Regions from separate parts of the Homo sapiens genome. Here all the other regions are linked to region 6. Evidence: promoter capture Hi-C in 16 types of primary human blood cells and fetal thymus (Javierre and others, 2016). All regions are on one chromosome and are shown on one strand. Each heading gives the region's core, a stretch centred on a gene start or on the middle of the fragment in contact. The rest is flanking DNA. Distances are from core to core; before and after follow the strand shown. Region 1 overlaps ZNF283 (zinc finger protein 283). Region 2 has its middle 17 kb from the start of ZNF285. Region 3 overlaps ZNF180 (zinc finger protein 180). Region 4 holds the start of ZNF285 (zinc finger protein 285). Region 5 has its middle 15 kb from the start of ZNF404. Region 6 holds the start of ZNF234 (zinc finger protein 234).

Evidence for each region. Contacts are between HindIII fragments. The CHiCAGO score rates a contact against its expected background, and 5 or more counts as called.
Region 1: a fragment that was not itself captured here is called in contact with the fragment with the promoter of ZNF234 in region 6 in 7 of 17 cell types (M2 macrophages, naive CD8 T cells, non-activated CD4 T cells and 4 more); the score reaches 8.0 in M2 macrophages.
Region 2: a fragment that was not itself captured here is called in contact with the fragment with the promoter of ZNF234 in region 6 in 1 of 17 cell types (monocytes); the score reaches 5.2 in monocytes.
Region 3: a fragment that was not itself captured here is called in contact with the fragment with the promoter of ZNF234 in region 6 in 16 of 17 cell types (total B cells, total CD8 T cells, naive CD8 T cells and 13 more); the score reaches 11.3 in total B cells.
Region 4: a contact is called between the fragment with the promoter of ZNF285 here and the fragment with the promoter of ZNF234 in region 6, in 10 of 17 cell types (total B cells, monocytes, naive CD8 T cells and 7 more). The highest score is 10.0, in total B cells.
Region 5: a fragment that was not itself captured here is called in contact with the fragment with the promoter of ZNF234 in region 6 in 12 of 17 cell types (naive CD8 T cells, M2 macrophages, M1 macrophages and 9 more); the score reaches 8.4 in naive CD8 T cells.

What each region holds. Positions count from the first base shown.
Region 1 is chr19:43,841,704-43,846,182 of GRCh38, reverse strand. All of the region lies in intron 6 of ZNF283 (zinc finger protein 283), which reads right to left. Among named protein-coding and RNA genes, the nearest start is that of ZNF283, 17 kb to the right of the region's middle. The HindIII fragment of the contact is 4,496 bases long and covers 305-4,479 here.
Region 2 is chr19:44,416,055-44,420,913 of GRCh38, reverse strand. No RefSeq gene overlaps it. Among named protein-coding and RNA genes, the nearest start is that of ZNF285, 17 kb to the right of the region's middle. The HindIII fragment of the contact is 2,484 bases long and covers 1,246-3,729 here.
Region 3 is chr19:44,480,575-44,485,564 of GRCh38, reverse strand. ZNF180 (zinc finger protein 180) reads left to right here. Exons shown (of 5, transcript NM_001278509.3): 3 at 1,130-1,204. Among named protein-coding and RNA genes, the nearest start is that of ZNF180, 17 kb to the left of the region's middle. The HindIII fragment of the contact is 1,399 bases long and covers 2,662-4,060 here.
Region 4 is chr19:44,400,024-44,404,425 of GRCh38, reverse strand. It overlaps ZNF285 (zinc finger protein 285), which reads left to right and starts at 2,818. Exons shown (of 4, transcript NM_152354.6): 1 at 2,818-2,858. RefSeq lists an enhancer at 2,665-3,421. The HindIII fragment of the contact is 3,728 bases long and covers 1-3,165 here.
Region 5 is chr19:43,866,893-43,871,683 of GRCh38, reverse strand. No RefSeq gene overlaps it. Among named protein-coding and RNA genes, the nearest start is that of ZNF404, 15 kb to the left of the region's middle. The HindIII fragment of the contact is 1,628 bases long and covers 2,721-4,348 here.
Region 6 is chr19:44,138,064-44,142,985 of GRCh38, reverse strand. It overlaps ZNF234 (zinc finger protein 234), which reads right to left and starts at 1,432. Exons shown (of 6, transcript NM_006630.3): 1 at 1,253-1,432; 2 at 619-672. RefSeq lists enhancers at 945-994, 660-1,250, 1,005-1,404. The HindIII fragment of the contact is 9,485 bases long and covers 1-4,136 here.

The sequences.
Region 1 (4,479 bases), core at 1,303-3,802, 300 kb after region 6:
TGTATTGCTATTTAAGGATCACTTTAAATTATAAGATCTCCAATTCACTTAGACAAAATGATCTTGAGAGTTACTAATAAATAATTTCTGGTTGCATAAAAAGTTCCTAAGAAGATATTCATAAAAGAGGAAGAACAAATATTTTGAGTTATTTTTCAATTAAGTTTACTTATTTCTTGACCATTGTTAAACATATTTTCACTCAACTAAGCTCAAACTACCCTGTCAAAAATCAATGTGATACACACATCATCTTATAACACATTAATACTGTTAATTATATTTTAAAATTGAAAATAAAGCTTTAAATTATAGTGTCATTCAGCATGGTATATTGACAATATTAGCAGGTTTAAATGCATATGGGAAATGCTATGTCATATAATGTATGAAAAAAGTGACATAAGTATGATATGATAGAAAAGACTGCTAGCTAAGGGAAAATGATGATCTTGGAGTAAACTGTCCACTCTATATGAGGAAATTAAAGTATTATTCTTTTTCTTCAATACATGAAGAAAATAAATCTGCATAATTTTGCCACACTTCTGTGTATGCTTCAAATTTTAAGAGTCAAATAATTTTCATGCTTTTAGCTACCTTATACTACACATCTAAACTATTTTTAAATAGAACAGAATTTTTTATTTAAATAAAAATTAAAATCTTGCTACCTTCTCATTATTTTAAATATTGTGTTGATGTTCTGATTAATTAGTCACAACTATTGTTCTTGTCAAAAGCTCCTCTGACAACTCTTTTTGTTAATGCCTTTTCCAATTCAGAATAATGAAACAGATTGTAACAGATTATGTCTTTCACATAAAATCTGCCTTTCAGGTTTCCTAAAAGGCCACTGAGCAAGCACAAAGATTTGCTCTTTCGCTTACAAAAGATACTAGAAACAATCAGGTTTCTTTGACATAATCCAGAATTTACTTAGCCCAAAACTACTATGACTGTGTTTTTGTTTATATAACCCCAGGTATATTAAAAACCAAAAGCTGACAATAAAAAGAGAAGTTTGGCCTTTCTAGGCTAATAAGTTACTTGTTATTAAAAGGTACCTGTCCCAGCAATAATGTACTTGTCAAGTTGGAGAAGATGTATATTCATATTCATGTACCCACAGGTTATGACTTTCTATAAATTAATTTTAAGAAAGATTGTGTACCTAGGTTTAAATACCCTTGTCAATTTGGAACAATCGTAATACTCTTTCATTGTCCATAATGTGTTTTGACTTCAAGGTAGTCACTTACTTTATCCTTATAAATTAATTAGGTTTTATACCTCAATAGAGGATTTAATTTTTTTCCATTATGAAGTTGTTGTTTATTATATTAAATTAACCAGAGCCATTGAGCCTTAACAACTACAAGAAGGTTTTTCCAAACTCAAATCTACTGACATTTGGGCCCAAATCATTCTTGGTTGTGCGGGGTTTTCATGTGCCTTGCCTGTTGATGACTGTATAACATTTTGGTTGAGCTATTAAATGATGGATGATTATTGTGATGTGAATGTGGGAAGTAAGTTTAATCATATATAGTTGGTCACAGGTCTAAACTGCACTATTGCTGTTTCATTTAACAATGTCTTGCTGCTTTTTATGCATTAACATTTGGGTGTAAAGATTCTGTGGATAACCAAAACAAAGCCACAGTATTTAAGCTGACCAACCTAATATTCCAACTGAATATGGAGGTGACCAATTATGAACTAAAAGGAGTACAGTTTTGTACAACATAGCATCAGTAGTTTAGCGAATTTTAATTTCTATGTAAGGCTTAGATTTTAATTTAACATTATAGATTTAGATTTAACATTTTAGTTACTTACTACTTATGTTTTATGTAAGGTTTTACAGTGTCAGTAAATAAATATGGGTTTAACTTCTTAAATGTCAAGAAAAATCATTGAGGACCCAAAAGACTTTTAGTTTATGTAGTTATATATTTTGATATTTGTCATGTTAAAAATTTAAACAGAGAAATTTTAAGATATTTACTAATTCACTTAAAATAACAATAAACCATTAACTGTTAACATAAATGATTTGTTATAAAAATAATCTTTTCTAAAACAAAACAAAAGATGTTTTAAATTTTTTCAAATCTTTTAAATGGATGGTTTAATAAAAGACACCTGGATTCTCATATCTGCTTCTGCATTCAATCTATGGCAATATGTTATTTAGGTTGAAATATATGAAGAAAATCATATATATGAAGTATATGAAGAAAATCTAGCCTCTCATGGTACATAGTTGGAAAATGGCAGAATATTTTACTAGTCCATGCAGATAACTGTGGATATTTTTCTTTGACACCACCCTAAAACTTAAGAAATGGTAGTGTCTGGCAGGTTAAGTACAATGTGGAATATAAAATCATATCTGTGAACTTTTCATACTATGTTACATTGCACTTTGAATAATCTTTTATCCATGTGTAATTTTGTAACATCATACACTGGTCATTTGGAAAATACTGATTCAAAGAGTTATGCAGATCTTTGAAATGTTGACGTAGTTCACTATACAACATCAAAAAATCACATGTTAATATTACCACCCATCTCATAAAAAATCTTAATGTATTAGGAAGCTATAAAGCTCAAAATTATGAATAAACATTTTACAAAATTCTAATTTTAACATGACAGATTGAATTATATCATTGGCAACAAATATTAGTTATTTTTGAAGTGACAGGCTCACTTGCAAGAAAATGTTTTCCTACTGCCCAAGTCTGAACAAACAAAGTTTTTCATTCTTTGGTGAAAAATATGGTGTTTTGTCAAAAAAGCAGTTGGTTTAACTCACAATTTTTTTGGGGGTGGGGACGTAGTCTCACTTTGTCACCAGGCTGGAATGCAGTGGCACGATCTTGGCTCACTGCAACCTCCGCCTCTCGGGTTCAAGCGATTCTCCTGCCTCAGCCTCCCGAGTAGCTGGGACTACAGGCGCGTGCCACCATGCTCAGCTAATTTTTGTATTTTTAGTAGAGATGGGGTTTCACCATGTTGGCCAGGATGGTCTCGATCTCTTAACCTTGTGATCTGTCCGCCTTGGCCTCCCAAAATGCTGGGATTACGGGCATCAGCCACAGAGCCTGGCCTTTAACTCACAACTTAAACAACTGTACAAGTGGTTTTCTTCAAGGCAACCATCATACTTTGGTATACAGCAGAAGACCTTAATGGATACTTCCCATTTCATTACATAGAATATTTTTTAAATGTATATATAATCAAGGGTTGAGATTTAATAAAATGAATACTGCTTCTTCAAGATGTTCTTAAGTGAAAATGGGTTTTTTCTTAACACATTTTCTTTGTGTGTGGAGGTAAAGAATATGATGATTACTAGTACTATTTGGTGCCTCTGCCTTTGCTCATGCTAAAGCAGAGAAGATTCACCATGGCTTCTACACCACCAGTGGAAGTGTCACCACAGTGAAAAAGGCAAACCTCTCAGTATTGTTATGAGAATATTTTTCACTTTGTGAAAGGTTTGGCCCACTGAAAGGTTCTTGGGAACTCCCAGGGGTCTTCAGTCCACAGTTTGAGAACCACTGCCCTACCTAGAGTAAGAATTATGTCCAGGACTAAGGATAAAACCAAACTGTACCTGCCTTCAAAAATCAACTCTTAAAAAGATCATTGTGATCTGCTATTAATTTAACTGCTTGCCTGAACAGTTTAACTATTAGGAAGATAATAAAATCCCCAAGTCACTACAACATGGCATCTACAATGGCCAGTATACAATGAGAAATTGTAAGACCGGTAAAGAAGCAGGAAAATTTGACACAAGATTTAGAGAAAATACAGTCAATAAAAGCAGACCCACAAAACCAAATGTAAATTCTATAACTATAAAATGTAGGTGGAATGAAATCTTTATTGGATAGGCTTAACAATAATTGGACACTATCAAAGAAAAAAAAAACAGTGACTTCAAGACAGGTAAATAGGTATTACCAAACTGAAGTACAAAGAGTAAAAAGACTGGGGGTTGCACCTCCGTGACTGGTGGCACCATATAAGTGGTCTAACACACATATAATTGGAGTCTTAGGAGGAGGAAAAGTACTAAAGAAGCAGAAAAAAGTATTTGAAGATACAATGGTTGAAATTTCTCCAAATTCAATAAAAAAATCAACCCACTGATCAAAGGTAAGGGAAAGTGAAGCATGATAAATGTAAAGGAACCATATCTAGAACTTTATAGTCAGATTATTACAGACCAAAAATAAAGAAAAAACTTAATAACAGAGAATAAAGTATATATAAAATGAACAATAAGAATCATAGCTGTCTAATCATTATATACAATAGAGTTCAGAAGATAATGGAACATTTTTGAAGCTAACTAAAAGAAAAAATATATCAGTTGGGAAATTCATATCTGGTAAAAATATCCTTCAAAAATAAGAAAGATGAAGGCTGGGTGCAGTGGCTCATGCCTGTAAT
Region 2 (4,859 bases), core at 1,238-3,737, 280 kb before region 6:
CTATGTATACCTATGCACTGGGGGAACCCACCCATGATGATTCAACAAGAGTCCTTTTCTATTTTCCCTAAGTGTTGGCCGGTCTGAGAAATAAAGGGAAAGAGTACAAAGAGAGAAATTTTTAAAGCTGGGTGTCTGGGGGAGACATCACATGTTGGCAGGTTCCGTGATGCACCTCCAAGCCGCAAAACCAGCAAGTTTTTATTAGTGATTTTCAAAAGTGGAGGTAGTGTACGAATAGGGTGTGGGTCGCAGAGATCACATACTTCACAAGGTAATAAAATATCACAACACAAATGGAGGCAGGGTGAGATCACAGGACTGGGGCAAAATTAAAATTGCTAATGAAGTTTTGGGCATGCATTGTCATTGATAACATTTATCAGGAGACATGGTTTGAGAGCAGACAACCGGTCTGACCAAAATTTATTAGGCGGGAATTTCCTCATCCTAATTGGCCTGGGAGTGCAACGGGAGACCAGGGCTTATTTCATCCCTTATCTGCAACCATAAAAGACAGACGTCCCCAGAGCTGCAATTTCAGAGGCCTACCCCTAGGAACGCATTCCCTTTCTCAGGGCTGTTCCTTGCTGAGAAAAAGAATTCAGCAATATTTCTCCTATTTGCTTTTGAAAGAAGAGAAATATGGCTGTGTTCTGCCTGGCTCTCAGGCAGCCAGATCTAATGGTTATCTCCCTTATTCCCTGAACATCACTGTTATCCTGTTCTTTTTTCAAGGTGCCCAGATTTCATATTTTTTAAACAATTTGTGCAGATAATGCAATCATCACAGGGTCCAGAGGCGACATTCATCCTCAGTTTACGAAGATGACAGGATTAAGAGATTAAAGACAGGCATAGGAAAAAACAGGAGTATTGATTGGGGAAATGATAAACGTCCATGAAATATTCACAATTTATGTTCTTCTGCCATGGCTTCAGCCTGTCCCAACGTTCGGAGTCCCTGACTTCCCGCAACATCTCTCCCATTTTTTTTTTTTTTTATATAAATGTGCCAAGGTGATGAAGGCTTGTTCGTTCTCTCAATTTTGACTCAGGATTCTTTGACTGGTTCCACACACTAAAGACAAGCTGATTAAACAGAGAAACATATTTCCAAAATTCACTGCAGAGGAGCCCCCAATAGACTTAATCCAAGTCATGGGGTTTAATCCATAAAGATTTTCTGCCACCTGATCTAACACCTCAGCTCCAGGCACAATGGATAAGTGAGCTTGAGAAGCTTCAAAAATTTGTTTCTTTAATTTATCTTAAATTAAATGATAAATTATCTTCCCTACCCAGAAGGTGTCCTTTGACCATTTACCATGAATGATCAGTCTCTTTATAGGAACATGGGGTGATACAGAAATCTGAAGTGTTCCAATCACACTGCATTTGCATTCGATGTTTGAGACTCACTACCCAATCTCCAAGCCAAGTAACAGACTGTCTTAAATAATTAATTTGATTAGCCAATTTTTGATCAATGCCTTGTTGAGAATTCCACATTTGGGTGGAATTGGCTTGCCAATCATTAACAAAATGAGCCTTTTGAATAGACTGATGTAACACCATTCTGGCAGTGGTGGCCATTGCAGTGACACTGCAGCCACTGCTCTGCTCTGGGAAGATCTGGGCACAGGCCCGCCAGGGTGGGTTTAAATAGCCTCAGGTGCAGCCTGGCAGCAGAAAGGGCGGAGCTTCACTCCTCCTTTCATGTGTCTCCCCCAACTTTTCCAGGCTCCATCTCCTAGGAAACTGCTCTCCTGATTTGATGTCATGTGACGCATTTGGGACAATCTAAGAAATTAGAAATTTTGTTGGCCAAATATATTATTAATTAAATGCATTGAAAACTATCTAGTGCTGTGGTTCTCACGTTGTGGTTTTGAGACCAGCAGCATCCTTGCAACCCTCAAGCCCCGGAGATCCACAAATCTAGGTTCTCTCAAGCCTTCCCCCTGACCCTGATGTATGGCAGTTTAAGAATTACCCATGTAAGCAAAAAGACTTTTAAGAAAAAGTGGAGATATGCATTGTATAAACATTCTTCTGCTCTGGAACCATGTAGAGACTTTGGGGCCAGGTGGGTGGAGCATTCATAGGATGAGGGTGGTGAGGTTAGGAATATCAAGGTGTGGCTCCAGATAATTAGACCATCTAATTAAGTTTTCAGTTATGCTAATCTGTTTTAAAATTCCGTTTATGTAAATTCTATTACTCAGACCAAGAATGGCAATGCCTCAACCCCAATTTCCAGGGAGGGTTGAGAGCCTGAGGTTGAGTTGATCACCAATAGCCGATGGTTTAACCCATCATGCCTATGTAATGAAGCCTCCATAAAAACAAAAAAGGACTGGGTTTATAGGGCTTCTGGATAAAACTTCCTGGAAGGTAGTGCACCCCTCCCCCCATGCCAGGCCCCATGAATCTTTTTTTCTGAATTTTTTGCAACATCCTCTATAATAAAATGGTAAATGTAAGTGTTTCCCTGTGTGGTGTGAGCTGTTCTAGCAAATTAATTCAACTGAAACAGGGAGTGGTGGAAACCTGATTTATACCCAGTTGGTCAGAAGCACAGGTAAAACAACATAGGACTTGCCATTGTTATTACAGTGGGAGGCGAGTCTTGCAGAACTGAGCCCTGTGGAATCTAATGCTATGGCCAGGTAGATAGTGTCATCATTGAATTAGAAGACACCCAGCTGGCGTCCACAGCAGAATGGATGGTGTGCTTGACTGACCGAGAGAAATCCCCAGACATGTTGTCACAGGAATCTTCTGTGTTGATTGTTGTGATGTGAGAGCAGAGGAAAAACAGTTTTTGTTTTTTTCGCTGAGCCTAAAATGTAAAAGGGTCTATTTTCTCACACTATTTAGGATCACATGATTTATAATAAAAATGTTTAATCTTTGTCAACTTGATATATAAAAAGGATGTTGGTTTTCATTTTATTGCTAACAGTCAAGGTGGTCATAGTTGATGTGTTTTTGTCATTTTTCTTTTCACTGCCTTGTCATGTCTTTCACCCATTTTTTAGTTATTTAATTTTTAATTAAAAAAAAATTTTAGGCCGGGCGCAATGGCTCACACCTGTAATCCCAGCACTTTGGGAGGCTGAGGCGGGTGAATCACGAGATCAAGAGATCGAGACCATCCTGGCCAACATTGTGAAGCCCCGTCTCTACTGATAGTAGAAAAATTAGCCGGGTGTGGTGGTGGGCGCCTGTAGTCCCAGCTACTCAGGAGGCTGAGGCGGAAGCCACTGCACTCCAGCCTGGGTGAAAGAGCAAGACTCCATGTGAAAAGAAAAACAAACAAAAAAACCTGGCTCTTATTAATCCTTTTATTTTTTTCCATCAGGTGAACAATTATGGCATTACGTTATGTGAATTTTTCCAGGTAGGAGATATTGGCCATCCTCTTTTTTTTTTTCTTTTTTTTTTTTTTTGAGAAAGGATCTCAGCCTGTCACCCAGGCTTTAGTGCTATGGTCGGATCAGAGCCTCAAGAGATCCTCAGCCTCTTGAGTAGCTGCAACTACAGGTGTGCACCACTGCACCTGATAATTTTCTTTTATTTTTTTTGTGGAGTCGAGGTCTCACTATGTTGCCCAGGCTTGTCTCAAAATCCTGGGCTCAAGTGATTCTCCTGCCTTGGCCTACCAAAGTGATGGGATCACGGGTGTGAGCCACATCTCCCTGACTCTTCATCCTCTTATAAGCTTATTCCTTTGTATTTCCCTTGCTATTTACTCCTTGTTTCTTTCTGTTTAGGTATTCATCTTATCTATGAACTCTTTTTGTGTATTTTTTCTAGGTTTTGATCTTTTTTCCTGTTATATATATTAACAAGAAAATTACTTTCAAACTGTTGATTGACATTTATTTTCATGGTGATATGTTTTAGAAAGTAATATTTCTTAATATGATGATTTATATTGCTAAATGTAGTAATGATTAATTTCCATGCATTACTGTTGTACTGTAAAAATTTCAATATATTGCTGGATTTTGTTTGCTGCTTTTCATACAATTTTGCAGTCCTATTCGTTGAAACATTTTCCTTTAGTTTTCTGGCTTTATTTGTTGTTGTTGTAGTTGTTGTTGTTCTATTATGGTATAATTTGGTTATCAAAATTATACTAGGATTTGTGGTAGTAATATAATAAGAAGCTCCTAGCGCGTTCTGCTCTCTGGAAAAGTTTATTGTAATAATCACCTCATTGAAGGTTGGTGTTATTTCCCTCTTAGAGCATTCAGAATAGATTTCCTATTTGGGGATTAACCTAAGGTTTCTTCTGAGGTTGTAGTTTTATTTAGCATTTATACTGCTTGTTAAATATATTTGCGTTCTCTATATATTCCCAGAAAATTATATTTTTCATTTCATTCACCTCTGTTTTTTCTGTATTATCTGCTTTCCACTTTCTCTGGTTTTGTTTTGCTGCTGTATATATGAGACATAGATAGTTCAGTGTTAAGAGCATGGGGCTGGGGGTGATGAGATGGGAGACATAGGGGAGGATGCCAGTGAGGTCTGTAAGTGTCTCTCGGCTTCGTGGGTGCGGCAGGCTGACTGGGTCAGAAATCTGGTTTGTCTGGGGAGGAGCTGGGAGACACAGAAGAGTCCCCGAGAGCTGGGGGTGAGCTGCTGGGTGACGGCAGTAAGAACATGTGGTATATTATTGATGAACGTGGTGATTCTAAAGAATGCCCAGAGGAGGACACGGGAGAGCCCAATGGCTTCATTGATTGCCCATCATGGTGAGGAAAGGGAAATGGGAGCTTGTGGGATTCTGGTGATGACAGAGGTGAGTGTGGTGAAGCCCTAGGGGATGGTGAATGGTAGCCCCG
Region 3 (4,990 bases), core at 2,112-4,611, 340 kb before region 6:
TGACTGTCACAAAAACACCCGACGTGGTCAGGATGTTGGTTATGTACAGGGCTTGAGCAAATAAGTAAATATAAAGAGGAAAATGGGAGCCAGAGAAAGAAAGTATACATAAAGAAAGGAGAAAAGCTAGACAGAATAAAATGTGTTATTGAATTGTAATTGGAGGTATCCATGTGAACTTATGGTCTCTAATATATACAGATAAAGAAACAGATGTTTGATTTTGATGTAAAGAGGCGAGCATCTGTTTGTATATTCACAGCAGTTTCTTCATAGTTGCATGTGCATTTTTCTTTGTCAGTTGAGGCTACCTTTTACTGATTTGGAAGAAGTCTTAATAGTATAGATTCTTATTGATCATGTGGCACCTTTTGCTAGACTTTTTTTTTTTTTTTTTTTTTTTTGAGATGGAGTCTTGCTCTGTTGCCTAGGCTGGAGTACAGTGGCATGATCTTGGATCACTGCAACCTCCACCTCCTGTGTTCAAGTGATTCTCCTGCCTCAGCCTCCCAAGTAGCTGGGACTACAGGTGCGTGTCACCATGCCCGGCCAGTTTTTGTATATTTAGTAGAGACGGGGTTTCACCATGTTGGCCAGGCTGGTCTCAAACTCCTGACCTCAAGTGAACTGCCTGCCTCAGCCTTCCAAAGTATTGGGATTACAGGTGTAAGCCACCGCACCCGGCCTGCTAAACATCTTATGAAATTAATTTGTTGATCTTTTTCTTTATGATTCTGGCATTGGTTATGCTGTATTCCATTTTATTTGCTTATAATTTTGTGACCCAGGAATTTTGGCAGGTCCCGCTGGACAGTTCTTAGCGTCTTAGTGCTCCTTAGTGTCTTGGATCACTCAGTCAGCTGCATTTAGCTGCAATGGGCTGGCCCAGAAGACCCAAAAAGACCTCATGTCCAGGTATCTGTGGGCCTTGGTGCTCCTCCATGTATCTCCTCTCTCTCTCCACATGGTTAGCGGAGCTTACCACTAGGAGGAGGGAGGAGAAATATGGTGGGAGGGATGCGTTAAAATAGGTGGTATGTCAAATCTTAGCCCACTGACCGGAGGAGATTTGAGCTGCCACTTAGCTCCCTGATTATTTTCCTTTTTCTCATCTGTTTTGCCTTTTCAGGATTCTTTCCTTCCTCAAGAGATTATCATCAAAGTCGAGGGAGAAGACACTGGGTCTCTGACCATCCCATCTCAGGTAGGTTGGGCAAGGCCTCTGTCTTTACACTGAGAAATGTGCATGGCTGGGAAGTGAGTAGAAAGTGAGGAAATAGGCCGGGCGCGGTGGCTGCCAGCACTTTGGGAGGCTGAGGCGGGCAGATCATGAGGTCAGGAGATCGAGACCATCCTGGCTAACACGGTGAAACCCCGTCTCTACTAAAAAAATACAAAAAAAGTTAGCTGGGTGTGGTGGCGGGTGCCTGTAGTCTCAGCTACTCGGGAGGCTGAGGCAGGAGAATGGTGTGAACCTGGGAGGCAGAGCTTGCAGTGAGCCGAGATTGCGCCACTGCACTTCAGCCTGGGCGACAGAGTGAGACTCCATCTCAAAAAAAAAAAAAAAAAGAAAGAAAGAAAGTGAGGAAATGGAGACAAAAGTGGACAACTTTTTCAAGAAGTTTGGTTATTGTGTGGAAGGTAGAAGAAAGTGAAAACTTCAAGGACTTTTGAGATTGAGGGTTTTTTTTAAAGGGATTGAAAATATTCAATTCAGTTTAAATGATTACAGGAAGGAGTTAGTAGAGGAAAAAAAGTTATTCATCAGGCAACAAGAGAGAAACTATAAAGCACAGTCCTTGGTTAGCACCAGAGAAATTAATTCAGAACATCTTGAATAAATTAGCTCTATATGAGGAGAAGGATTTATATAGGAACAGTGAGGTTGAGGGAATTATTTGAAAGCTTGATCTTTCACTGCGAAAAATCAGATGAGCATGATGGTGGGAATTGGAATGGAGAGATGTATGACAAGGGTAGAGAAGGCTTAAAATAGCAATTTTGGATTATGAGAGGAAACAGGCTGCTCCAGTAAATGTAATAGGATTGCTGGTCAATCTGAAAGTTTCATTCAGAGATAGTGGCCATTAATTTATAATACTCTATCCTGCTGCTTTTGTGGATTTTTCCCTGCAGTGGCAATTTGTAGCCCACTTTCCACAGATAGCAGATTGACATTCAGATTCATTTAGTTTTTGTAATTTGCCAGGTCCACTTCCTATGGAGTGGACACTCCAAAGGTCAAGGGAATACTTGAAAGAGAATTTAAAAATACGTCAAGTAGAAAGATTAAAAAGAATGATCCATGAACCTTAAATTGAGTAATTAATATGGAAGTGATAAAGAGCCCACTAAGTAGAAATGAAAAAGAATATAGGCTGGTAGTGGTAATAGTAGACATTTCGGTAGCATAATGGCCTTAAACTTTCAAGGAACAAGAGTAAAGGGAAAAAACTGAGCCAATACAGTGGAGCAATCTGACATTGTAGTGAAACGTGGGCAGTTTTGTATTTGTGATTCAAAAGGTGGAGTGTTTTATGACAATTTCAAGGTCTGGGGTGTCCCCCGAAGAATGAGCTGATGAAGAGCAGCTTCAGAATATGAGACTTGGGTTAGCCATATGAACTGATGACTGAGAACACAGTCATCAATGTGCAAGCTTGAGGTTTTATCCCTCTACTACTAACCTTAGGCATATGTCTTAATTTCTCTGACTCCCTTGGTCTTCATAAGAAAAAAATAATACTGCTAATAGTGTTTTCTCACAGGAGCCCTTTGAGAATTAAATGAATAATCCATATGACATGTTAGCACAATGCCTGGCACCATGGTGGTGCTTCATGCAAACTCATAAGTGCTTCATTAAAGTCAGTTATTTTTATATTCTCATCAGCTGACTATACAAGTGGATGCTATAGACAATATGAGATAAGACACTACAAGTTCTTATATTAGAGGATAAATCCCAAGTATGAATCTTCAGTGAATGGGGTGGGGGTGGTGTTCAGGAGGTGGGTAGGACAGAGCTCCAAGAAGTGAGGTAAATGGCATGAGTTTCAGAGTAACTGGGAGGACATGCACTCCTTCTTTGATGCTGAGATCTAGGATGGGAGAGTATGAGCATTCTTAGCCTCTGAGGACTGAGGAGGAGGGAAGTCATCAGCAGGAAGTATAAGTCTCCATTAACACAGGGATGTATAGGGAATGTTTGGTGAAGGATACTGAAACTGCAATATTTTATTGTTATTATGATTTTGAGACAGGGTCTCACTCCAGTTACCCAGGCTGGACTGCAATGGTGTGATCATGGCTCACTGCAGCCTTGAATTCCGAGGCTCAGGTGATTCTCCAAACCTCAGCCTCCTGAGTAGCTGGGACTATAGGCATGCACCAGCACACCTGGCTAATTTTTTGTGTTTTTAGTAGAGACAGGGTTTCACCATGTTGCCCAGGCTGGTCTTGAATTCCTGGGCTGAAATGATCCACCCACCTCAGTCTCCCAAAGTGCTGGGATTATAGGCATGAGCCGCCCTACCCATCCTATTTTATTGTTACAAAAGATGAGTTTCAAGGGCAGTTGAAGATTTTGGGAAGGAGTTTTCAGGCATGAGGAATTTGGGACAAGTGAGAAGAATAGAATAAGTGGGATAGAAGTCCAGAAAAGCTAGTATCTGCACATTGAGGGGCCTTTTCAAATGGGTATGTGGTACAGCTTGTGAGATTCAGGTGAGGGGGGATGACTTAAATCAATTTGGGTGAGGGTTATTTTGATATCTTATAAGGTTTATTGATAGTGTTCATTCACTTACTGAAATAATTTGTGAAATATAAATGTAATATCTACTATATATAAACACTATGCTAAGCATTGGAGTTACATTTGCAAACTGTAAATACTTGTCCCTGCCTTCATGGATCATGGCCTAGTGACAGAGATGACCATTCTGCAAATAAGAAAGTGTGATTATAGAAGTCCATGGAACTTTGAGAATATATAGTTGGGAGTGGAGTGGGGGTGCTAATCTAGTTTAGTATTATCTGTTTGACATTTGAACAAGCTTTATACTAAAGAGACCTATATTACACAGAAAGGGGGAGTGTTTATTAAAAAGAAGCATGCATTACAGATTGAAAGACAATACCTTAAAGATTAATGTTAAATACAGGCAGCAGTTGGCGAGTTATTTTTTGAATTTCACGTTGGGCTAATCATGAAAACATTTGAGGTTTCAGTGAAATTTTTAGGCTCAAACTTAGAGGCATATACAGCAGTATTTTGCATGTGCTTTCATGGCATTCAGGACCCTGTATCCTATTCATGAACTGCAGCTCAAGAATGCCTGGTCTATTTAAAGAGCCTTTAGTGGCAAGAGGCATTCGACTTCCCCTTGCCTTTGCTGTGCCTGGGTAAGGACAGATCACCCTTAGCACTTCTCTTTTGGATTAAAATTCCTGCCCAGTTATCTTAAGAACAGGCCCTTTCCTGCTTAGAGGAGGCAGCCCAAGAGACCCCATTTATATGGCAGTAATAACAGCAAACGTCTCCTAAAAGGCTCTGCCATGCAGCTGGATATGGATAGAAACAGAACTGTTATTTGAAGACTGAGAGTTCAGAATAAAGGTCACTTTGGCTCTCAGTTAATCTTTGAGGATCCTGAGACCTACTAATCATAACAGTACAGGCTAAGCACCCCTAATCCAAAAATCTGAAATTGTCCAAAATTGGAAGGTTTTGGAGCCCCAGCATAATGCCACAAGTGGAAAATTCTACACTTGACCTCATGCGACCACTCATAGTCAAAACAGTCAAAACTGTTTCATACACAAAATTTTTTTAAAAATTGCATAAAATTACCATTAGGCTATATGTTTAAGGTGTATATGAAACATAAATGAATTTGTGTTTAGACTTGGATCCCATCTTCAAGGCATCTCATGTAAATGCAAATATTTCAAAATCTGAAATCCAAAATTCTTCCAGTCCTAAGTA
Region 4 (4,402 bases), core at 1,569-4,068, 260 kb before region 6:
CTTAACACACCCATTTAAGTGTGGATTTTCAGACTAAAGCCAAGCTCTTAGATTAGGTAAAAGTAACATTTAAAAATAACTATAATAATAAAGAGTATATAAATAATAAGGTAAAGAAATATACTAATTTTAAGACAAAATGAAAGAATAAATACTAGATGAAATCTAATGAAAAGAAAGCAGGTACAGTCTTCACTGAAAAGTAAACTCAAGGTGAAAATACAAAATACTTAAAATTGTTAACGAAATTTTTGGCCCATCAAGAAGATATGAACATTATGAAACTTACACAGGGTCAGCATCACTAAATTTTAAAATCCAAAATGTTTCACAATCTAAAACTTTTGGAATGTGAACATGACACCACAAGTGGAAAATTCCACACCTGAAGTATTTGCTTTCTTTCTGTTCTTTTCATTGATTTTTCTTTGGTCATCTGACGAAGGCAATCTTTGCTTCTGATGGTTCAATGCACACAAACATTGTATACAAACCTTGTGAACAAAATTATTCAAAATAATTCTATAAAATTAATTTCAGGCTACATGTATAAGGTTTATATGGAACACAAATGAATTTTGCATTTAGACTTGGGTCTCATCCTCAAGATATCTCATTACGTATATGCAAATATTGCAAAATCTGAAAAAAATAAAATATCTGAAACACTTCTGGTCCCAAGTATTTCAGATAAGGAATACAACACTTCCATACCTAACAACACAACTTTTAAAAAGTAAAGCCATTTGTATACCTAGTAACTTGACTTTTGAAAAATGAAGCAGGCTGGGCATGGTGGCTCACGCCTGTAATCCCAGCACTTTGGGAGGCCGAGGTGGGCAGATCACAAGGTCAGGAGATGGAGACCATCCTGGCTAACACGGTGAAACCCTGTCTCTACTAAAAATACAAAAAAATTAGCTGGGCCTGGTGGCGGGCACCTGTAGTCCCAGCTACTCGGGAGGCTGAAGCAGGAGAATGGTGTGAACCTGGGAGGCAGAGCTTGCAGTGAGTTGAGATGGCGCCACTGCACTCCAGCCTGGGCAACAGAGCGAGACTCAGTCTCAAAAAAAAAATAAAGGAAATAAATAAATAAATAAATAAATAAATAAATAAAGCAAATGCTATAGAGAGGAAAATGACAAATTTACCATTATAGGCTTTTTTTTCTTTCACTTTTTTCTTTTTTCTTTTTTTTTGGTGACAGAGTCTTGCTCTGTCGCCCAGGCTGGAGTGCAGTGGCATGATCTCGGCTCATTGCAACCTCCACCTCCTGGGTTCAAGTGATTCTCTTGCCTCAGCCTCCCAAGTAGCTGGGACTACACGTGCTTGCCACCATGCCTGGCTAAGTTTTGTATTTTTAGTAGCGATGGGGTTTCACCACCTTGGCCAGGCTGGTCTTGAACTCCTCACCGCGTGATCTGCCCACCTCGGCCTCCCAAAGTACTGAGATTACAGGCTTGAGCCACCACGCCCAGACTGGGAACCTTTTTGACATGCACTTTTCAATCGTTGACAGATGCATAATGAAAAAATCTAAGTAAGCACAAATAAGCATGTAGGAAATTTAAATAGCACAGTTAGCAAGTCTGGGGAAAATATAAATGTATGCATATCCATCTGATAGAGAAGACACATTGTTTTCCAACAGACACAGATGTCACAAAAATTAACCTTGTATTAGGTCAAAAATAAAAATGTTCCTGAACTCGTTTTTTAAAATTCAAGTATGTCAAATTAAATCAAGTAATCCTTCAACTTAGAGCAATATATAAGAACATCAAACATGTAAACATCAAAAGACAGAGATAAGCCAAAACAATTGCACTGTCCCTTTATGTGCCCTAAGCTGCGATGTCAAGCTATAGTTGGATATTATTCAACCATTTCCTGCCCATTGCGTAGAGGTGGGGGTCTTCACTTCTCTATCTAGTCTAGGACTGGAACCGCCTCACCACCCCTACAGCTTGAGGGTGCGTGGAAAAGGGAATGCCAGCCAGATATTCCAAACAGAGACTCTGCCAGCAGGACCAGGTGACCTTTCCTAGGAGACAGATTGTTCTCACACGTTATCAGGGCTTTCCTCCAGGCTAAAACTGTGGGCCTCTAATGGAATTCCTATTCAATTTTCTTACCCCATTTAGGGTACCCAAATTTTTCTTTAATAGAAATCTTAAATCTTAAATGCAATAACATGAAGTAAAATAAAGCCTAAGTCTCAACAAGGGCAAATTTTCAAAAAGAATCTGAAAACTTCCCGCGTTTTCTTGTTATGTTGTAATGTGTCTCTTTTAGGACACTCTCAGTACTCCTGCAATTCCCCTGTTAAGGATTCAGACAATAGTTGTTAATTCCTTCTGCTTCTTCTGAGACTAGGAAATAAATTACAGGGCTATGTTATATCGCAAGTGTAGATTATCCAGAGTTTTCATCAACAGAAATAAAACATGGTGGGGGGCGGGGAGGGAATTATTTAAGTGAGTGTTAATTGAAAAGTTTCGTGGTTTTAACGTTAAAAGACATGCCTATAAAATAAGAACTTATAAAAGTCTTCACTAAAACGGTAAAGTGCCCATTTCCAAGTAGTAAAATATTGAAACTTCTTTTCATCGTTGATAGTGATTTATTTAACATTTCATTATTTTATCGTTATTATGATTGTCGTTATTTTAGACGAATGCACGGAAGTCAAAGGACTTCCAAATGCACGGAAGTCAAAGGCCACCTTCACCAGGGTAGCCTTGCGAATGGCCACTGCTGCGCGCGGGGCTTTCTGGGGATTGTAGGCCATAGGCCTCCTTGCGCATGCGCCATGGTACTGGACGCACGCTGCGGGCGACATTGTTTGGGACGCTGGGGTGAGTCCCGTCTGTACCGCGCCCCTCTTGGAGGCGTAGCCAGGAGTAGGAGTGTAGGATGTGCAGCTGTGACCCGTCCCTGTGGACTGAAGTAGGAGGAGTGGAAGAGGGGACTGGTAACCAATGATAAGGCCTCGTAGGTGGGGTAGACTAGGGAAGTTCAGCGGCCCGACCTACCCGGGATAGGATGGGAAGAGCGTGGGCTCGAGCGTGGGCTCGGTTTGGGGAGCAGCCCTGGGTTTGACAAAACAGTGCATCTTCACGTTTCGTGACAGCGACTTGCGCTGTGCCTCCTCGGGTCGAAGCTTAGGGTCAGTCTTGGGATGTGCATCTCTGGATGAGGGCAGAGGGGCGCTGGCTCAGGGTTTTGGAGTAATGGCTGGACTGTGCGTCCCTGAATGGGATGAGGGATTTGCTTAAGCAGCTAGTCTCTGGATATAGAGGATGGCTTCGGCTGTTCTCGCTCAGTTTGGTGGGGGCGATTCTGGCTCAGCACCCCTAGGTTCTTGGATGGGGAGTTGTCTTGGGTCTGAACTCTGGATTTTGGCAGCTCTGACTCCATTGGGGCATTTATGACTTCAAGGCAGAGGTTCTGGCTTTTGGCAATAAAGAAACAACTCAGACTGTAATACTGTAATAACTCCAGAGTTTAATGTCACCGAATACATTTTGAAAAGAACTGTCCCAGGCCTGGCGCGGTGCCTCACGCCTGTAATCCCAGCACTTTGGGAGGCCAAAGTGGGCGGATCACGAGGTCAGGAGATCGAGACCATCCTGGCTAACACGGTGAAACCCCGTCTCTACTACAAAAAACAATTACAAAAAATTAGCCGGGCACGGTGGCAGGCGCCTGTAGTCCCAGCTACTCGGGAGGCTGAGGCAGGAGAATGGCGTGAACCCGGGAGGCGGAGCTTGCAGTGAGCTGAGATCACGCCACTGCACTCCAGCCTGGGCGACAGAGCCAGACTCTGTCTCAAAGAAAAAAGAAAAGAAAAGAACTGCCCCAAATTATTAACTCCATTCTCACCTCACATGCTGTGAGCCAGGGAGTAGGGACTTTGAGTATTATAAAGCACATTAGCAAATATAAGTTGTTAAATTACACTCAACAAATTTGAAGTTTGAACACTCTCTGTATATTTGATAAAGTTAGAGATTTAGTGTTAATTATTTTAGGTGTAATAGCAGCATTTATTACATTTCTGATCGTGTTTCTGGGCAATTGCAGTTCCAGATTCAGCTGCACTTTTCCTCTAGGTCTTCATTCCCTGAAGAAGTTGATATGGGCATCTGGTCTCATTCCTGATGCATTCCTCAGATCAGAGTAGTTGTCAGGGTGAGGGATGAGAAAGGCATTTGTGTGCGAGAGCTGTGTGGACTTTGGCAGATAGGGAAAAAACAAGAGTCTTGAGGTGCCATGTGTCCCATGCCTTTGGCTCCCCACCTTTTCCACCCTGCTGTCTGCCCTGAAAGGCCGCCATTGCCTTCTGGCCTTGCTTGTCTTTGGCCAATGGGAAGTCTCAACAGGAAAGTTTGGAGAGAGG
Region 5 (4,791 bases), core at 2,285-4,784, 270 kb after region 6:
ATTGTCACAAAAAAATTAACAGTAACCCTATAATGTCTTAAAATATTCACTCCATTTGCAAATTTCTCCAATTTTTAAAATAATGTCTTTTAGCACTGTCTTTTTCACAAGCCAAGAACCAAACTAATCTCATATATTTTATATGATTATGGCTTATTAAGTCTCTTTTAGTCAAGAGCCTACCCTTCATCATTTTGTGACATAGACTTTTTGAAGACTTTAGATTTGACCTAAATAGTGTTGCACATGCTGTGTTTGTCTTATTGTTTCTGGAGGTGTGATTAACTTGTTTCTTTGTCCTCTATATTTACTGTGACCTGGAGGTTATGATTAGAGGCTTGATTGGGTTTCAGATTAAACATTTTCAAAAGACTACTTCATAGATAGTATCATGTACTTAATATTGTAAAGTATCAGGTGGCCTACAAGTGAAACTATGTTTTATCCCTTGATTCATGTATTGACCACCAGCTCCTTCCATTGTTATGGGTGAATTTTTTCTTTGCAATTAAATAAGTAATCCATGGAAAGTCATGTTGGAAATTTGAACAGTCTTCTGTATTCTATTTTTAGAGATGGGGTATTGCTATGTTGCCCAGGCTGGAATTCAGTGGCTATTCACAGATGTTATATAGCACACTACAGCCTTGAACTCCTGAGCTCAGGCAATCCTCCTGCCTCAACCTCTGGAGTAGCTGGGACTATAGGCACACAGTGCTACACCCAGTTGCTTAAAGAAATTAAGATGAAAATCCTCATCTTTTATATTTACCCATATATTTACTATTTCCCATGCTGTTTATTTCTTTCCAGAGATCTGAATTTTTCTCTGGTATCATTTCCCTACAGTTTGAGGAACTTAACTTAGCATTTCTTGGAGTGAACGTCTGCTGGTGATGAATTTTCATAGTTTCTTTTACTGAAATGCCTTTATTTTTTAAGGATTTCTTCTGGCTATAGAATTCTGGGTTGGCAGTTTTTTGGAGATATATGAATATATGTGTGTGTATATGCACACACACAAAGAATACACACACATATATATACTCATAAAGAGATATATATTGTTTCATATATGTATATATAAATCACCGACTTCTGGTCTTCAAGTCTCCATAGTTTACAAGAAGAAGTCATTTGAATTGTTTTTTCTCTTATGTAATGTGTCCTTTTTCTCTGGGTGCTTTCCAGATTTTCTTATTACTTTTGGTTTTCAGCTGTTTGAGTATGAGGTGCCTAGGTATGGTTTTCTTTGTGTTAATTCTGCTTGGGGTACTCTGAGCCTCTGAAATTTGCACACATGTGCCTTTCACCAAATTCCAGAAATTCTTGGCCATTATATCTTCAAATATTTTTTCTGCATTTACTCTACTCATACGTTAAATCTTTTGGTACTGTCCCACAGGTCACTGTCTTTGTTATTTATCTTCAGTATTTTTTTTCTGTTCTTCAGCTTGGACAACTTCTGTTACTCTGTTTTCAAATTCACTTATTCTTTTTCTCTGTCATTTCAGTTCTGCTGCTAAGCCTATCTATCAAATTGTTTAATTTCAGATATTACATTTTTCAGTTCTAGAATTTTCCTTTAGTACTTTTATAGTTCCTATTTCTTTACTAAGATTGCCTATTTCTTCATTGCATGCATCTTTTCACAAGGCTTTTCAGTCCTGTTAAAATCCTCTATATATTGATTCATGCTAGAAAAATATATAAAATCATTATTATGAACTTATACAGTGAAAAGTTTTCATTTCAATGAATGTTCCTATTATTTTCACTAGGTCACGAAAAAAAAGCTTTCCTTTCCTTGGAGTTTCAGATTTTGCTTATTCATATGCAATGTGATACTGGTGAGAAAAAAAATCACTGTCTTCTTTTTCCTTTATTATTAAATATTTGGAAAACTTTCTTTAAAGAAAATCTTGAACTGGAGTTCAAAGTACGAGAAATCTTTGTAAATGTCTTACACCATTAAACAGATGAGCATTGGGAAAGAACATAAGATTAATTGTTCTCTATTTCTTTTTTGTTTTGTTTTGTTATGTTTTTTTGAGACGGAGTCTCACTCTATCACCTAGGCTGGAGTGCAGTGGCGCGATCTCGGCTCACTGCAAGCTCCGCCTCCCAGGTTCATGCCATTCTCCTCAGCCTCCCGAGTAGCTGGGACTACAGGTGCCCACCACCACACCTGGCTAATTTTTTGTAGTTTTAGTAGAGACGGGGTTTCACCGTGTTAGCCAGGATGGGCTTGATCTGCTGACCTCATGATCGCCCCCCTCAGCCTCCCAAAATGCTGGGATTACAGGCGTCAGCCACCAAGCCTGACCTCTATTTCTTTTAACAGTTCCATGAAGTAGTCGTGATTCATAATATTTACATGTATATACTTCATAGGTATATTCTTTATACAGTAGAGCAAAGCAGTTAGGGAGACATCAGTCTCTTGCATTAAAATTCCAAGGAATTCAGATTTTTAACCTAATACAGCTGGTGTATCATCTATTGTGATAGAAATATTTTTTGATACCTAACAGAAATTTTTCTTTGACAGATATAAAAGACAAAAATATCTATGTCATGACTCTGGTTTTGTAGGCTGCGAATTGACAGCTTTTTTTATTTGGGGATCTTTTGAGACAAAATGTACCCACAGTATCAATTGGGCTAAATTATCTTATATTGCACAACTCATATATGGCTAAAGAAGAGTACTTGAAGCTTTTGCTAACTTTGAATTAATTGATCCATGATATTGTTAGAAATATCTTGTATTCTATGAGCAGTTTTTAGGTGACTTAATTTTTTTTTACTTTTTATAAGATCATTTTAGTCTTTCTCAGAATATGCTAACAAGATTTTTGCAACCAAACTAATAATTTATCTTATCTCTATATCCAACATTTCTTTTTTGTGCAAGAATCAGAGCCATTTTATAGCTCAAAAAGGTTATAAACTCAGATTCTGTTTAAAAATTGTTTAAATATTTTGGTTGGACATTTAATTCTAATTTCAGGCAACTAACTTCATCTATTCCATTTTGCTTCTCAAGAGAAAACGTCTCATCAAATTTACTATGTATTTGCTGAAAATGTTTCACAATATTTTTCTCTTTAACAATTTAATTTGTTATGTAATAAACAGCTTTTTTTTTTTGCTCTCTCACAGCAAATTGCAATTGACATTCATCATGAAATTCATAGTATATTATCTTCCAGGCTCATTTTTTACAATTCTGACCATAGTACTGGTCTCCACTCAATTCTGTGTAATATGCCTTCATTTATTTTAAATTTTAAATTTTGTCCATACTTACTTTTCAACCTAGAATAATAATTTAATTATAAAGTACTAAGTATTTCCATTTAATTACTAATAATTATTTCCTTAGTATCACTGTAACTCTTCTTCTTTTTGAAGTATTCAAATAAATACATCAAGGCAGGGCACAATGGCTCACACCTGTAATCTCAGCATTTGGAAGGCTGAGGCAGGCGGATCACTTGAGGCCAGGAGTTCTTGGCCCGGCCAACATGGCAAAACCCCGACGTTACTAGAAATACAAAAATTAGCCTGGTGCAGTGATGCATGCCTGTAATCCCAGCTCCTCAGGAGGCCGAAGCACAAGAATTGCTTGAACTTGGGAGGCGGAGGTTGCAGTGAGCCGAAATGGTGCCACTGCCCTCCAACCTGGGCAACAGAGTGAGCTCTTGTCAAAAACAAAAAATAAAACAAAAAAAAAAACCCAGAGCTAATACTTTCCATGAATGTTTCCACGTAAGGACTCATCCCCAACTCATCAAAAATTCAGAGTATCTGCAACAGGAAGACACTTACAGAACATTTCCATCATTCCTAAAAGTTCTCTCTTGCTTCTTATCTTTCATTCTCCTAAGGCTACTGTTGTTCTGATTTCTATTACAATTAATGTGTTTTACCTTATCTTGATCTTCATGTAAATGGAATCATACATTATGAATACTACTATTCCTTAATTCTTTCATTCAATAGAAAAATTTGAGATTCTGCTATGTTATTCCTTAGATTAGTAGTTTATAGCTTTTTACTATTTAGTAATATTCAAGGTATGAATATACCATAGTTTATTCATCTGTTCTTCTATTGATGGATTTTTGAATAGTTTGCAGGAATTTTTTTATTATAAAATCTCTCCAAATAGATTTTTTAAGATAAAAAATTATTTCCCTCATTGATTTGCATAGGTGACTCTTATAAATCAATTGGTTGTATATATTTGGAATTATTTCTGGAGCCTGTCTTCTGTTACACTGATATATTTAACTTTCCTTATACAAATACTACACTCTATGAAATAGCTTTATATTAAGCTTTGAAACAAGGTAAGCTAAATATCCCAAAGTTTTGAAGATGGCCGAATAGGAACAGCTCCGGTCTACCGCTCCCAGCGTGAGCGTCGCAGAAGACGGTGATTTCTGCATTTCCATCTGAGGTACCGGGTTCATCCCACTAGGGAGTGCCAGACAGTGGGCGCAGGTCAGTGGGTGCGCGCACCGTGCGGGAGCAGAAGCAGGGCGAGGCAATGCCTCACTTGGGAAGTGCAAGGGGTCAGGGAGTTCCCTTTCCAAGTCAAAGAACGGAGTGACGGATGGCACCTGGAAAATCGGGTCACTCCCACCCGAATACTGCGCTTTTCCGGCGGGCTTAAAAAAACGGCGCACCACGAGATTATATCCCGCACCTGGCTCGGAGGGTCCTACACCCACGGAGTCTCGCTGATTGCTAGCACAGCAGTCTGAGATCAAACTGCAAGGC
Region 6 (4,922 bases), core at 183-2,682:
TAAGCAGATAAATAGAAAAACATTGAGAAATGTATAATAAAAATTTTGTAAAACATTTATAAGTAATATAAACATGGAACCACTAAAACAAAATGCATTAGAAATTTAACCATTACTATCTTTACATCCTGATTTCATAGGTAATTACAATTTTTGTATCTTCGTATTTCTGTAATTTCTGAATGCTTCACAGTGATACGGTTCTATTAGAATGTGAAATATTTGTAATAAATGAAACAAAATAGTTGACAGTTTTTAAAAACTGAGAAAACTCCAAGGCAATTAGCCTTGCTCTTAAGGTCCTTTAATCAAGTTCTAACTTACTTTCCCCACCTGAGTACAGCTAGTTCCTCTGCCTCAATGAGAATATATCCAAGAGATGATCAACTCGGGCTCTGACCCTGAATGCCTAGGTTCCAACCCAAGTTTCACCTCTTACTACTTGGATGACCAGTACCTCTCCACAGAGTCACGTTGCGGCTTAAACGTATCTAATTGTATAAATCCCCTAGAATTGAAGTTAGCAATTAAGGCTTAATTATTATAAATGCCCATGCCCTATTACACATGCTACAAAGATACAGTCTCTGTAAAAGAAAAATGACAAGTCACACTCACGTGGAGCTTTGCTTTCAGTAGCCAAGAAGTCAGTCCGCGCAGTCCTTTTTCAGGCTGGGGAAGGAGAAAGCTGTGAAACATCCTGACTGGGTCGCTGTCCCTGAGAAAAGTTAAATGCTCCCCTCCCTTCGTGGAAGTGGACGCAACCCTCGCCTGCCTAAAAAGAGGTCAGAAGGCGTCCGGGATCGTCCAGCGTCCTGCAGGGATCAGAGATAAGGGCTGAGGCCCCTGCTGCTGGAGCTCTGACCCCACCGGGGGACCTAACAGGTTTCGTGGGAAAGTAACAAGAAACCACCACTCACCAAGTGACAGGGACTGTTTGTGTTGTGTAACCTATTCCAGTTACCAAAACGATTCTACAAAGATGGTCCTAACGTCCCCATTTTAAAGAACAGCAAGGAGAGGCCCAGGGAGATTAACACGCCAACCTTGCACTGTAAAAAAGTGACTGCGCGCCTGGAGTGCAGGGAGGCGGAGTGGGCGAGCTCAGAGCCCCGGAAACCCTCAAACCAGGCGAGACGCGACCCAACCAAGTCCCAATGCCCCCCGCCTCCCGCCGCGGGACACGAGGGGAGCCCCAGCCCAAGAAGGCTCCGCTGACACAACAAAAGCCGCCGCCCTCGCCCCACCAAACCTCTGCTCTCCCACGAGGCTTCTTTTCCCATAACCGGACCACCAGGTCCCAGCGAGCCCCAATCTTAAGTCCCTGACATTAGGAGGGGCCCGCGAGTCGCGGAACTGGAAGAAACTACCGTGGAATGTGCCGTGACAATCGCCCCCTCTTCCCTGGAGCGGAAGTGCCCGCGACTCCACTGATTGGCGGGACTACATTTCCCAGAATTCCCCGGATCCCCCTGCGTGGGTCAAATGGACCACGACTCCACTGAGCGTTTGGATTACACTCAGAATGCTGAGGGAAAAACGTTCAGAATCTCACCCTTCAGGGAAAAGCGATGGGACTCCGCGGTGCTCCTTGCCTACGATTCCCGCACTGCCCATGGGGAACGAATCCTATATCGCTGAGCGCTTGGTAGGGAATGTGGACTGTGACCCTGAGAGTCGTCCTTCCCTCTGCCTGAGTCCTTGAGCGAAAATATTGAATAGACAGCAATTCCTGAAGTCTAAACGCCTCCCAGGACTACGGAGGATTATTGGAAAGAGAACAAGCGAGGAGATACAATCTTCAAGGACTAAATGGGGAATGACTTTTTAGGGGTCAGTAGATGATTGATGATTGATTACTATAAACTGATAATATGAGGCCAAAACTAAAAGTTGGAAGAGTGAGCAAGTACAATGGTTTGGGAGAGGCAATGAAGAACAAAGAAGGTGCCAGCCCCTACTCCAGACGCTGTGGTACCACTGGTTTGGCAGGAAAAACAATCATCATTTGAGAGGGCCAGTGGGGAAGCCCTGTCCTCATGGAAAAGCTATCTTCTTTCGTTTACACTTTTCATGGTATTATGTCTACTGAAGAGGTAAAAACACCAAATTTCAGAGAAGCTCTTAAATTGCCCAATACTTCAAAGCAAGTATAACTGGTGAAGCGCTTGGCATTGATGTCAGACACCCAATGCCTATGATTTATTTAATGCAGTAGCATTAAGGAGGATCCTATACGTGAAGGAACATATTTTATTTTCTTCCTTTATATTTTTTGGTTAAAATATCGTCATTATAGTTAGCAATTTGGAATCTGGCTTACATTGGTTGATACAAATAAATAATAGAATAAAGCAAAATCAGAAAAAAACCCATCTAAAATCTTTCTTCAAGATAACCAGGGGCTGGGTGCGGTGGCTCACGCCTGTAATCCCAGCACTTTGGGAAGGCCAAGGCGGGCGGACCATGAGGTCAAGAGTTCGAGACCAGCCAGGAGAACATGGTGAAAACCCATATCTACTAAGAATACAAAAATTAGCCGGGCATGGTGGTGCGTGCCTGTAATTCCAGCTACTCGGGAGACTGAGGTAGGAGAATCGCTTGAACCTGAGAGGCAGAGGTTGCAGTGAGCCGAGATCATGCCACTGCACTCCAGCCTGGGCGACAGAGCAAGACTCTGTCACGGAAAAAAAAAAAAAAAAAAAGATAACCAGATTTTTTTCTCCCCATAAACATACATTGGCCTATTGATATGGTTTAGATCTGTGTCCCCACCCAAATCTCATGTTGAAATGTAATCCCCAGTGTTGGAGTTGGGGCCTGGTGGGAGGCGATTGGATCACCGGGGAGGTTTCTAATGGTTTAGCACCATCCCTCTAGTGCTGTTCTCCTGATAGAGTTCTCATGAGATCTGCTTGTTTAAAATTGTGTAGCATCTCACTCCTCGCTCTTTTCCTCCTACTCTGGCCATGTGAAGTGCTGGCTCCCTAGTCGCCTTGCAGCATGGTTGTAAGTTTCCTGAGGCCTCCCCAGAAGCTGAGCTGATGCTGCCATGTTTCCTTTACAGGCTGCAGGACTCTGTGTGAGCCAATGAAACCTCTTTATAAATTACCCAGACTCACGTATTTCTTTATAGCAATGGGGGAATGGACTAATACACTTATCAATCTATATTTTTGTTTTTTAAAAAATGAAGTCTCACATTCTAGATTCATTTTATAAACTAAAAAAATACCTTTTCACAATTGTGTTTACATAAAAACAAGGTTACTATGCTAACCACACAATGCCACACATCCCCCTCTTTGAAAATTGACTGACTGCTATTTCTATACTAGTTACAGCTGTATTGTTGCTCTAGTCGGCCCTTCCAAATGACAAAATTTATTGAGATGCTCCATCTCGGCCAGGCGCAGTGGCTCACGCTTGTAAACCCAGTACTTTGGGATGCCAAGGCCAGCGGATTACTTGAGGCCAGGAGTTTGAGACCAGCCTGGCCAACATAGTGAAACACTGTCTCCACTAAAAATACAAAAAATCAGCTGGGCGTGGCATGGTGATACATGCCTGTAATCCCAGCTACTCAGGAGGCTGAGGTACAAGAATCACTTGAACCTGGGAGGCCGAGATCACGCCACTGCACTCCAATCTGGGTGACAGAACGAGACACTGTCTCAGAAAAAAAAAAAAAAAGTGGAAGGGAGGGAGGAAGGAAGGGAAATGCACTCCAGCTGAGTGACAGAGCGAGACTCTGTCTCAGAAAAAAAAACAAAAAAAAAAAGGAAGAAAAGAAAGAAATGTAAATCAGTCAATATCTTCTAAAAAATTTAAAATTATTTTTTCCAGGGTTATATTTTTAACATTTTGATCTTCAGCGATTCCAACATTCAAGATTATGTCTTTCTGGATTATGATCAATTTCTGTCCTTAGTGCATGATCTCAGGATATACCAGATACTAGTTTTTATCCATTACTGGTGCTGCTAAACTTGAACAGTTGATTAAGGGGTTTCTCTCCAGAATTCTGCACTCTAAAATTATTTTTCCCCTAAAAAGTTACTACTATCTGGTGAAAAACTGAGATACTCCAACTCATTCTATGTTGATTTTTTGGCATTATGCTCTAAGAAAAAGCTTTCCATCTATATTATTTATTTGTTTATACCAGTGTGGATTTGTGAATTCTTGTTATATTAATGAGTTCACATCTACTACTGTTATTATGTATTTTGATTCTCTGGTTGTCTCAGATTTTGCCAGTAAAATCCTCTTCAAGCAGTCCCCTCTTGCCTTCTGGCTCCTCCTGTTCATCATGATATGAGCTCTTTGTGCACTGGTTTACTTTCTGATACTGTGTGTTCCAAGTTCATTAGGTATTTTTCAAGTTCATTGGGTATTTTCCCTACCCTAGCCATGAGATCAGATATTTCTCCTAGGACTTCTGGTTCCTATTTGTGGAAAATGTAGTTAGAAACAAAGAACTGAGTGCTAGGTATGATCGCTGCTACCTTAGTGTTTTTTATTCTTGACCCTCTCAGCTGACAAAACTAGCAAATATATACTTTTTTTTTTTTGAGACGGAGTTTCCCTCTTGTTGCCCAGGCTGGAGTGCAATGACGTGATCTCGGCTCACTGCAACCTCTGCCTCCCAGGTTCAAGAGATTCTCCTGCCTTAGCCTCCCAAGTAGCTGGGATTATAGGCATGCACCACCACGCCCGAATAATTTTATATTTTTAGTAGAGCCGGGGTTTCACCATGTTGGCCAGGCTGGTCTTGAACTCCTGACCTCAAGTGATCTGCCCACCTCGGCCCAGCCTTTTTGTTTTTTGTTTTTTTGGTAGAGACAGAGTCTCACCATGTTGCTCAGGCTGGTCTCAAACTTCTAGACTTAAGTGATCCTCTCGCCTCAGGCTTTTTTCAC